Regions from separate parts of the Homo sapiens genome. Here regions 2 and 3 are each linked to region 1. The links are contacts of gene promoters, found by promoter capture Hi-C in human tissues and cell types (Jung and others, 2019). All regions are on one chromosome and are shown on one strand. The core of a region is centred on a gene start or on the middle of the fragment in contact, and the rest is flanking DNA. Distances in the headings are between cores, read along the strand shown.

Evidence for each region. The method cuts DNA at HindIII sites, captures the fragments that hold promoters and counts their contacts. A contact is called where the count stands out against the background at its distance.
Region 2: the fragment with the promoter of EIF4A3 here is called in contact with the fragment with the promoter of CBX4 in region 1 in 1 of the 25 tissues and cell types used here (liver).
Region 3: the fragment with the promoter of CARD14 here is called in contact with the fragment with the promoter of CBX4 in region 1 in 1 of the 25 tissues and cell types used here (pancreas).

What each region holds. Positions count from the first base shown.
Region 1 is chr17:79,837,713-79,841,139 of GRCh38, reverse strand. It overlaps CBX4 (chromobox 4), which reads left to right and starts at 1,700. Exons shown (of 5, transcript NM_003655.3): 1 at 1,700-1,957; 2 at 2,086-2,129; 3 at 3,238-3,303. The coding sequence starts at 1,889. RefSeq lists enhancers at 1-218, 1,863-2,684, 2,685-3,427 and a silencer at 1,104-1,813. The HindIII fragment of the contact is 26,084 bases long and covers 1-3,427 here.
Region 2 is chr17:80,144,779-80,148,515 of GRCh38, reverse strand. It overlaps EIF4A3 (eukaryotic translation initiation factor 4A3), which reads left to right and starts at 1,388. Exons shown (of 12, transcript NM_014740.4): 1 at 1,388-1,723. The coding sequence starts at 1,555. RefSeq lists enhancers at 1-19, 20-733, 734-1,446, 1,447-2,161 and silencers at 730-919, 1,760-1,809. The HindIII fragment of the contact is 11,065 bases long and covers 1-3,737 here.
Region 3 is chr17:80,168,331-80,172,110 of GRCh38, reverse strand. CARD14 (caspase recruitment domain family member 14) reads right to left here and starts at 2,081. Exons shown (of 24, transcript NM_001366385.1): 1 at 2,055-2,081. The HindIII fragment of the contact is 21,960 bases long and covers 1-3,780 here.

The sequences.
Region 1 (3,427 bases), core at 451-2,950:
CTACACCCCTGGGGAGGGGCCACGTGGGTCTCGGTGGGTAGCAGCCGCCGGGCAGCAGCAGCCTCCGTGGCGCAAGAGCTGCAAGGTGGTAATGAAATGGAGTCCACGTGTGCGTTCAACACCAGACCGTCTTCGAGCTTCTCCGGGATTCCTGGGCGAACACGAGCCCCGCGCAGGCTCCTCCCTCCCCTGCTCGCCCGAGCCCCCGTGCGGTCCCCAACAGACAGCCGGGTCGCGTGTCAGGGCGGTGGTGGAGACCCGGATGGCTCTTTGCCCGCCCCCATCCCTCGCTCCACTCTCGCTCTGCTTTTGCTCTTTTTCTTTCTCCGTGGACGCTCAGCCAAGGGATTGCGCAAGCCTCCTGCTCGCGGTCCTTCAAGAGCCCGGAGCCGGGGCCCAGACACACCCCAGGCCAGGCGCGCCCCTGCCCCTGCCCCTCGGGCCGCGCTGTCCGCTCCCGGGTCCCCCCACCCCGACCCCACGGAGCTCGCGGGCCCTCGGCGGCGCCCTCGGCAGGCCGCATAGGGCGCAGCAGCTCCACCAGCCGGACGCAGGAGCCGCGCGCCAGAACGCGCCGTCTCGCCGCCGGAGGTGCCAAACTTCACACTCGCTGCTGCTCAGGCCGCGTCAGTCCGGAGGGCCTTGGCTTGGTCGCCTGTCGGGAACAAGGGTCCGCGGACACAAGGCGAATGCGTGGCTCCTCGGCCATTCCGTTCATCTCCCCTTTGCGCTGCCCGTTCGTCCCCCGCTCAGCCTCAAGCTCTTCCCGGCCCTCCCAGCTCCCTGTTTCTAGGCCACTCCCGGGACCCCACGAAGTCCCCTCAGGCCCCCAGGCGGACCCTGGCCTCCCGCGCCCGCTCTCTCTGCCTCCTACGCCTCTCGCCTAGCTTGGCTCTGGAGGCTGCTAGAAACAGGACATCTCGCCCCGTCAATAAGAGGACCAAGTGTAAATTCGGAGCCATTGAGGATCGGGGTGGGATCGGATTTGGAGCCCTTTCTGCCGAGGTTCTTGGGCGCCAGGGCCCCGGGATTGGCTGCTCCTCGGTCCCCTTCCTCGTGCGTTCTTCAATCTCTCCTTGGCACCCAGTCCTCGGCCTTCTCTCCGCCCTGTCCCTTTCCCTCCTCGCGCTCCAAAATGCCCGGAGCCTGGAGGCGAGGCGGGGCCCGCAGTGGGGCGCGAGCTGCCCCTGCCCCATTCCGCCCCCTGCCGGCGGGGCCCGCGCGTCCCGGGGCGCTGGTGACGCAATTCGGTGCAACTGGGAGCGGCGGCGGATGCTTCCGTGGCCCCCAGCAGGGGTCCCGGGGCCGTGAACACTGAGAACGTGCCGCGAGGGGGAGGCCCGGGCACCGGGATGTGGGCGAGGGGTCGCCGCCGAGACCCTTCCGGGCTGTCAAGCTCTCCGCCCGCCTCCGCCCCGGCGGACACACCTCTCCTTCCCGGTCCCGCTCCCTCTCTGCAGCCTCCCTCTCCCAGGCTCGCCGATCCCTCCCCCTGCACCTCCCCGGCGCCCTCCCCTCCGCGTCCCCCACCCGCGCCCTTTCCTCCTCCCCCCGCCGCCCAGGCCCGGGGCCTCCGGTAGGCCCGGCTGCGCCAATCCGCGCCGCGGCCCGCCCCCTGACGCCGAGCTGGGCCCGGCGAGGCCCCGCCCGCTGACGTCCGGGATTTGCATGAGTTCTTGTGCAGCCGCGGCCCGGGCTCAGTTGTCTGAGCGAGCGCGAGCCGGGAGCCGGGGCGGGCGCGGGCAGCGGCGGGCCGGCCGGGCTGTGCGGGGCGAGCGGCGGCGGCGGCGGGGGCGCTTCGGCCGGGGCGGCAGCTGGGCGCCGGCGGGAGCTAGCAGCGTCTGCAGCCGCGCCGGCCGCCAGCGCCCCGGCGCGCTCCGGCTCGGCCATGGAGCTGCCAGCTGTTGGCGAGCACGTCTTCGCGGTGGAGAGCATCGAGAAGAAGCGGATCCGCAAGGTAGGGCGGCGCGGGGGCGGCGAGCGGCGGCCGGAGCGGCCCGCGAGGAGGCGGGGAGGGGGTGGGGAGGCTGCGGGCCGGGCCGGGGATCCCGCGGAAGCTGATGGAGTGCTGTCTCTTCCCCCCAGGGCAGAGTGGAGTATCTGGTGAAATGGAGAGGCTGGTCGCCCAAGTAAGTCGCGGCGGAGGGCGGGGGCCCGGGGGCCGAGGCGCGGGGCTCGGGGCCGCGGACCCGCCGAGCTGCTGGGGGGGTGGGGGGAGCGGACGGGAGGCGGGGTGGAGGTGGGGTGGAGGGAGGAGGGGGTGGGGAAGTCGGTGGCAGGCACTGGGGAAGCCGAGCCGCCGAGCCCGAGCCCGGCGCCCTGTGTTGTGCTCCGCTCTCCGGGAAATGCCATCACTAATTTATGCACTAAAAGGAGCCGGAGGAGCTGGAGAGACGCGGGGCCGAGCCGGGGAGGCCGGCGGAGGGAGGGAGGGCGCAGGCACTGACTGATGTGCAGCAGAAAATGGCTCCTTTCCCCTTTCCCTCCACCGAACGGCTCCATATTGCAAAACCAAAAAAAAAAAATTAAAAAGCGACGAAAATGCAATTGTGTGCCTTCTCCCTCCTAGTGGTGCAGGGAGGGGAAGAAGAAAGGCAGAAAATGTTGGGAACTGTCACTGCGGCGCTTTTGGTGGAGAATTTTTTTTCTTTAATTTGAAATGCGAAGGCACCGGATGGAGATAGACGCGCAGGCACACGCACACTCACACACACACACGGAGGCATATTTTTGTGTTGCTGAGTATTTGGGGTTTGCTCGCCCGTGACAGCGGGCTCCTGGGCCACGAGGGGGTGTGGGGGGGACGCTTGGCTGTTGGCTATCGGATTAGGGGTCAAATGGAGAACGGCTGAAGCCCTCGCGGGGACTCGGGGCTGGGGAGAGGAGGGGGACTGCGACTTTGCATTTCGGCTGCTTTGCACGCAGGGTTCCTGGTGAGCAAAGTGGCTTTGGAACATGTCGCAGTAACATGCTTAAAATTCTTGACAACTGCAAAATAAACTGCTAGTTTCATTTTCCTTACCCCTCCCCTTTCTTCCTGCCCTTGCGTGTTTATTTGAGGGGGGGGCTGTGTATCAGGGACTACGTCAGGCCTGCGGAAATCTACCTTCCACATCCACGGCTAAATGTTCATAAAGACAGAGTAGGGCCTTATGTCACTCCCCACCTGGAGGCCGCGGCAAAGGTGGCTTTTTTTTTTTTTTTTACACCGTGTCCCCCTCCCTTTTCCCTTGCAAGATATAACACGTGGGAACCGGAGGAGAACATCCTGGACCCCAGGCTGCTGATCGCCTTCCAGAACAGGTGAGCGTCCCCCACGCAGCCACCGCCTGCCACCCGTGACCGTATATGGGAATGGCAAAGTGGGCGACGCAGCAATAGGAAAGGGGCGTGGAGGGGGCTGGTGGGAGCCCCCTCCCCAACCGGC
Region 2 (3,737 bases), core at 139-2,638, 310 kb before region 1:
TTTTCCCAAAGTTAAAAACATGATTCTCAACAGCATGAACTGCCCTTCAAAGATGATGGAGCTGCTTCAAAAGGCGTTAGAGGAGCTGGGTACGAAGAAGCACTTAAAGTGTCAGATAAGAAAGCGGTTAGTGGCTGCGCGTGGACACCTGTGGTCCCAGGTGCTCTGGAGGCTGAGGCGGGAGGATCGCCTGTGCTCGGGAGGTGGAGGCTGCAGTGAACCGAGATCGCGCCATGGCACTCCAGCCTGGGCGACAGGGCCAGACTGTCTCAAAACAAACAAACGAACAAACAAAAAGCAGGTTAAGATGCACAACTGGTTAAAGTTCTGCTGGGCAATTAAAAAATGATCCCGTCTGGGTTATCTTTGCTGCAGGACACGCATTAGCAGCACCGTCTACTGACAAGTGGCCTTCATTAAGAGCAAATTGCAGGCTCAGCATGTATTTTATTTATAACAGCTGCTTGCCGGGCACAGTGGCTCATGCCTGTAATCCCAGCACTTTGGGAGGCCAAGGCAGGCGGATCACCTGAGGCCCCGCAGTTCAAGACCAGCCAGGACAACCCTAACCCCCGCCTCCCCCAACCCCGTCTCTACAAAAAAATTTAAAAAATTAGCCGGGCGTGGTGGCGCGCGCCTGAGGTCCCAGCTACTCCAGAGGCTGAGGCGGAGGCTACAATGAACCCTGATCCTACCACTGCACTCCAGCCTGGGCGACGGAGCGAGACCCTGTCTCCAACTCACCAGGCAAACGGTGAAGACACACCCAGGCGCGTCCCCTAAGAGGGACGCCGGCTTCAGGGGCCCTGGCCCTCCCCAGCGCAGACCCGCCGGAGCCCAGCGCCGCGCCGGGGCCCACCACCGGCGGCCGTGAGGGTTTCCACTCGAATCTCCCCGGCGAGCTGGGCGCCTCCACTACGGGTCTGCGACGCAGTCCACCCACTGCGGGCCCGAGAGAGGACCCGTGCTCGTCATTTTTATTCGAGGCGGGGCTATCTGGGGACCCCGCCCGGAGCGGAGGCCCCTCGCGGCCCCAGCCTGTTTCCAGGGAATTCAGGTCCACACGCCGCTCAAAGAACCTCAGCGCCCCAGTCCGCGAAATCCCGCGGCCGGTACGAAACACCGCCAACTTTAGAAGTACCACCCCCTCCATCCCTTTCGTAAGGAACTGGGTGCCCCGCCCTCAACGAGATCCCGCGGGAACTGCATATGGCGCGAGAGCAGAAACACCTTACTTTTCCCTGCGGCAAACGCCCAGTTCCCTTTCACGTGACGAAGAGTGCCCCGTCCCCCAGAGGCGTGGCCGCGTCGCGCGTACGCACGTACGCACGTACGCACGCACGTCTCTCGCTTTCGCATACTTAAGGCGTCTGTTCTCGGCAGCGGCACAGCGAGGTCGGCAGCGGCACAGCGAGGTCGGCAGCGGCACAGCGAGGTCGGCAGCGGCACAGCGAGGTCGGCAGCGGCAGCGAGGTCGGCAGCGGCACAGCGAGGTCGGCAGCGGCAGCGAGGTCGGCAGCGGCGCGCGCTGTGCTCTTCCGCGGACTCTGAATCATGGCGACCACGGCCACGATGGCGACCTCGGGCTCGGCGCGAAAGCGGCTGCTCAAAGAGGAAGACATGACTAAAGTGGAATTCGAGACCAGCGAGGAGGTGGATGTGACCCCCACGTTCGACACCATGGGCCTGCGGGAGGACCTGCTGCGGGGCATCTACGCTTACGGTGAGCGGGCGCGGGCCGCGGGGGCCAGCCGGGGGCGAGTCGGGGGCGAGCCGGGGGCTGAGGGCCAGACTGGTGACTCCCGGGCCGGCCCTGCGCTCCGGAGGTCGTGGTCAGGGTCGAGGCTCGGGGGCCAGTGACGTCCGACCCCCACCCCCACCCCCGTCCTCGCCCTCACGCCTGGCTGTGTCGGCGCTTTCGGTGTGTGTCCCCCGTGCAGAGCTCGGCGCTGGGTCTGTCGGGGGCTGCAGCCGCTTCGAGGCACCTCAGCGTCCTTCATTCAGCAGATAACTGATTTCTACCTATTAGCTTTTCTAGGTACTGGGGTTTTGGCGGTAAACCGGAAGGGTTTGCGCCTTTACGGGTTTTGAATTTCGTTTGGGGGGAAAGCATACTGTCAGGTTGCCCAGGCAACCTGAAGAACCTGAAGCGGGGTAATTGAATAGAGTGGGACTGGGAAGGAGGAGAGAATTAGTAAAGCAGAGAGGTAAGGGGGTTCGCAGGAGGGGGTGCCATTTGAGCAGAGTTCTGGATGAAGGAGACTGTTATGAGAAGAGGGAAGAGCAGTTGGGGCAGAAGGAACAGCTGGTGCCAGGGCCTTGCAGCCCTTAGCCAGCTGCATTCCAGGAACTGAAAGAAGTCCCCTGTGGTGGGATTTTGGAGAGCTAGTCGGGGCAGATCTAGCAAAGACGTGTAGGGTGACGAATAATTTGAATTTCATTTAGAAATCTAGTGGGAAGCCAGTGGAAGGTTTTAAGTAGCTATGTGACACGATCACATTTACAGTTTTAAAGATTCTTCTGGGTGTCTGTAGATTTGAGGTGAGGCGAGGCAAGGCAGGAGAGGAAACAAGAGAGTTGGGAGCTTTTGCTGCAGTTCAGGGAAGAGAGGATTGTGCTGCCTTGGAGATGGAGTACCAGGGAGCTGACAGCATTGGCTGATGGATTGAACGTGAGTGACAGAAGGAGGAGAGTTGGAGTGTTTTGAGTAACCGGTGGTTGATGCTGCAAACATTTGGCTAGGTAGGCAGCACTCCAGAGAGTCAGAATCAGGAGCTGTCTCTTGGTATGTTTGAAAGATGTGAGGAAGTTGAGGGAGAGCCTGGAGAAGAGGTTGGGTTGGGCACATAGATGGGAATGACCAGCATCTGGGATAAATGGCCTGTGTTTAATGCTTGGGACAGGGACATTTTTTATCCTGTAGTTCTCTTCCTTTTCTTTCTTCCTTTTCCTTCTGACAGTCCTGCTCTTGTCACCAAGGCTGGAGTGTAGTGGCATGATCTCAGCTTATTGCAACTTCCACTTCTGGGGCTCAAGCGATTCCTTTGCCTCAGCCTCCCGAGTAGCTGGGATTATAGGTGTGGGCCACCACGTCCTACTAATTTTTGTATTTTTAGTAGGGAGGGGATTTTGCCATGTTGCCCAGGCTGGTCTTGAACTCCTGACCTCAGTGATCCACCAGCCTCAGCCTCCCAAAGTGATGGCATTACAGGTGTGAGCCACCCCACCTGGCCGTATCCTGTAGTTCTTGATGCCACAACAGTTTGGACAAAGTGAAGCGAAGTTGCTGAGGATGCGTGGTGAAAAAGCATCTCAGGCAGCCTCACAGTGAGGCTGACAGCCCCACCTGGTTTCCTGGCACTCAGGCAGTCCCTGCCCTAAGACACTGTTGTTAGTTTCCCATCTATGTGCTTGCTCTTCATGAAGAGTTTAAATCATCTGCTATATTTGCATTTGTGTTAAGATGGGAAATTGTGCTACATTTTCTTTTGTTTCTTATTTTTCGCTATGCCCCAGAACTGAGCAGAGCTACATTTAAGAGACTACCAAAAAATAATTGAAATAGAGTTTTTGTACATAAAATTTTATTTACTTGAAAAACACGTGGTTCTTCTTCAAAATAGCCTCACCCTTTGGTGTAGTAGTTGCTTTGCAAGAGAGATGGTGTGATGGTGTTGTAGTTAGTGAGCTGCATCCAGACAGAACAACATAGGACACCCTGCAGCGTGACCCACGCA
Region 3 (3,780 bases), core at 832-3,331, 330 kb before region 1:
TCTGGCACGCTCTCCAGTATCTTACTATATCGAGTTGCCAAGGGGCCACATCTCCAGCTTGCAGCTGAAACCCTGGGAGTTCTGGACAGCCAGGTCTCTGCGGATATCCTGAGGACCAGGACTGGTGGTCAGCCGAGGACTACAGGTTTCTCGGGTGCCTTCCTGGGGCTGGGTCCAGGTGGCAACGACCGGGTCTGGGAGGGTCCTCTAGTTGGATTGTCCCTCTGCCCCTGACTTGCCCGAGCCTCACAAGACTCCTGAGGAGGGTCTGAGGGTGCTGACTGTGCCCTCCCATCAGACTGAACTCAGAAAGCCAGGGCAGCTCAAGCCAAAGCTGCCTCACCAGCAGCTGAAGACAGGGGCTCTGCAGAACTCTCCAGACCCCAGCCAACTGCCCCAGCCAGCTGCCCCTCAGGCTTCTGGAGCCCCCAGAGCCACACTGAACTTCAAGCATCAGTGGGTGGAGCTAAATAGAAGTCACTAGTCCCTTCTGCAGTTGCCATGAAGCAACTTACAGTAGTCTCCAATGGCAGTTAACAATTGCAGGAGTTTCTTTGTAACTTGTCCCAGTGTAAATAAGGGTTAGTCCTAACAGTAAAACAAAACAAAACAAAACAAAAAACCTTAGGGCTGGGCACAGTGGCTCAGGCCTGTAATCCCAGCACTTTGGAGGCCAAGGCAGGAGGATTGCTTGAGCTCAAGAGTTCAAGGCTGCAGTGAGCTATGATTGTGCCACTGCCCTCCAGCCTGGGTGACAGAGCAAGACCCTGGCTCAAAAAAAGGAAAAGAAAGAAAGAGAGAGAGAGAGAAAGAAAGAAAGAAAAGAAGAAAAGAAAGAGAGAGGAAGGAAGGGAAGGAGAGAGAGAAGGAAGGAAGGAAGGAAGGAAGGAAGGAAGGAAGGAAGGGAGGGAGGGAGGGAGGGAGGGAGGGAGGGAGGAAGGGGAGGGGAAGGGGAAGGTGAATGGGAAGGCGCCAGGAGCCGTGGCTCACGCCCGTAATCCCAGCACTTTGGGAGACCAAGATGGGCGGATTACCTGAAGTCAGGAGTTTGAGACCAGCCTAGCCAACGTGACAAAACCCTGTCTCTACTAAAAATAAAAAAATTAACCAGGTGTGGTGGCGTGCACCTATAGTCCCAGCTACTTGGGAGACTGAGGCAGGAGAATCACCTGAACCCAGGAGGCAGAAATTGCAGTGAGCCGAGATTGTGCCACTGCAACTCTAGCCTGGGCGACAGAGGGAGACTTCTGAAAAAGGAGAGAAGAGGGGAGGGGAGGAGAGGGGAGAGGAGGGGAGGGGAGAGGAGGGGAGGGGACGGGAGGGGAGGGGACGGGAGGGGAGGGGAGGGCCCAGAGATCTCTAATTCCAAACTCTGAATCTAACTGTACAGCAATTCTAGAAGAGCCTAAGATCATAAAATCCTGAGCATCTAAGATGTGGGTTCTCCTTATTTGACCCCTCCCAGGTCAACATCCTTCTCCTAACCCAAGTGTCAGTCTCTTCCCTTGCCAGTGAAGTAGGGAAGAAGGCATGTACACATACACACACGCACACGCACACACACACATGTACATACCCCATGGGGGGCAGAGGGTCACAAGCCCAGGAGGAGGGGGCACAGCTCACCTCGGCCCCCCAGTGCCATGACAGGCTGGCTGTGCCTCTGCTACCAACAGCAGCCAGCTGGTCTTGCTCACTTTGTTCTGAACTTAGACACCTTCCTTCTGCTGTCTTTCATCCCACGGCAATAGCGAAGAGATGAGAGTATAAAACAGAGATCCCTTTCATCTAGCATGACCCATGCTGTTTTAAGGCAGAACTCAGCATTCAGAGAATGTTCCAGTGATTGACCCAGCAACACAGACAAGCCGTTTTCTGTTCTCTAGTCCACATACAAGGCAGCTCCTCCACTCCTGATGAGGAAGATGCCGGCCCCTCCCACTCCCCTGGGACCACTCTCGGGCCCCATCAGACCTGTGTCGGCTGAGCCCCTCCGTAGGCTGAGCCCTCCGTAGGCTGACCTGCTCTTCGCCGGATGGACTGCGCGCACTTACCTTCCCCCTCCCAGGGAAGCGAGGACTGAATGTGGCCCAATCTCTGGCTGAACTGAACGGCAGTGGACAAGCAGGTTTGACAGGCACATCCCACAGGAGCAGTGCCTTATATGGGGCTTCTATGAGCCATCGAAGCACCAGTGCAGTCCCACAGCTAGACATTGCCGTAAGAACCACAGGGATGGCTGAGAACAGTCCGTGCATCTGGTCGACCCACAGAAGATGGTGATTGAGGGTGATTGAGGGGAAGGCTTCAGGCTTGGGGGCTGGGAATCCTCTCTCCTTTGTGAACGGTCACCCAGTTCATCATCATTTCTACCCTTGGGAAAATCCTACGAAGATCAGGATAAATTCTAGGGCCTTTCTTGGTTCTCATGATCCATTATTGGAAGTATCTGAATAATTCCAATAGATCCATCTCAAGTTAACATTTCATAACTATTGTTTAGATTTAGATGAAAGTCTTGGTCCTCCACCTTGAGATATGTCTAGAATCCGATCCATTCTCACCACCTGCATTGTGGTGTCCTGATCATGGCCCACCGGGACCTCTGTAATGGCTCCTAACTTCTTCCCACGCCCCCATCACCAGCGCTCAACACAGCAGACAGAGAAGTCCTGCTAGGGCATGAGTCAGCTCCTGTCATTCCCTTCGGTGTACAGGTCCTGGAGTCCTCAGCGTGACCATGAGGCTCTGCTTATCAGGTCCTTGCTGACCTTATCTCTCTTTTACCTGCTCCAGACACACAGCCCAACAGTCTTGACAGTCCAGGCACACTTCTGCCCCAGGGCCTTTGCACCTGCTGTTCCCACTGCCTGGAACACTCTTTCCCATCCCTCCTTCCAGACTCTACTCAAATGCTACTTCCCAGATCATCCTACTTAAGTCCGTAGACCTCCCATCCTGGCCTTCACTCCCCTTCCCTGTTCCATCTTCTCTGTGGGAATACTGCCTTGACCTAACGTGTATTCTAGTTACGTGGCTTCCTGCCAGCCTCCCCACTCCACAGTAACCTACTGAGGACAATAATTCTTGTCTTTCTTGTTCCCTGCTGTGTCCCCACCCCTAGGGCTGTGATATTCCACAAATATTGGTTGAGCGAATGAATAAACATTGGTTAGGGGCTTGGTTCCCAATGATGCAGACACTGAAAGAAGGGAAATTCACAGGTCCATGGCCTGAGAACCTTCAGGATTATCCTGCGGACAATCAAAGATCGGCCTTCAAGGTCATGTAGCTCATGGTGGCTGAGCAGTAGCTCCAACCCAAATCTCCTGGTGATGAGCCGGCTGAAGGCACAGCCAGTTGGGCAGAGCAAGTGAGAACGCAGGCCGAGGCCAGGTGCAGACATGAACTCTCCAACCAGGGTTACAGCCCCACTGGGTGTCAGCTTCCCCTCAGGCAGTTCATTTAAGCCCCTAAGGCTCAGCTCTCTTAGTTTCCTCCAGCAGACCTCATGATAAGCCCTCCCCCACAGTGGGGAAGCTTGCCAGCTCATCACACTGTGCCAGCCACACAGAGAATTCTAGTTACAGAAAACGCAAAGAAATGCCGCCATTCCCAGTAAAAGAGGGGGGCAGAAGAATGCACTGGAGATGGGAGGAGCCTCCCTAAGAACAGAAATAGCCATAGAAATAGTCAAGGTGCAGCCATAGAAAGGAATGAAGGGCCTTTGCAGAGACATGGATGAAGCTGGAAGCCATCATTCTCAGCAAACTAACATGG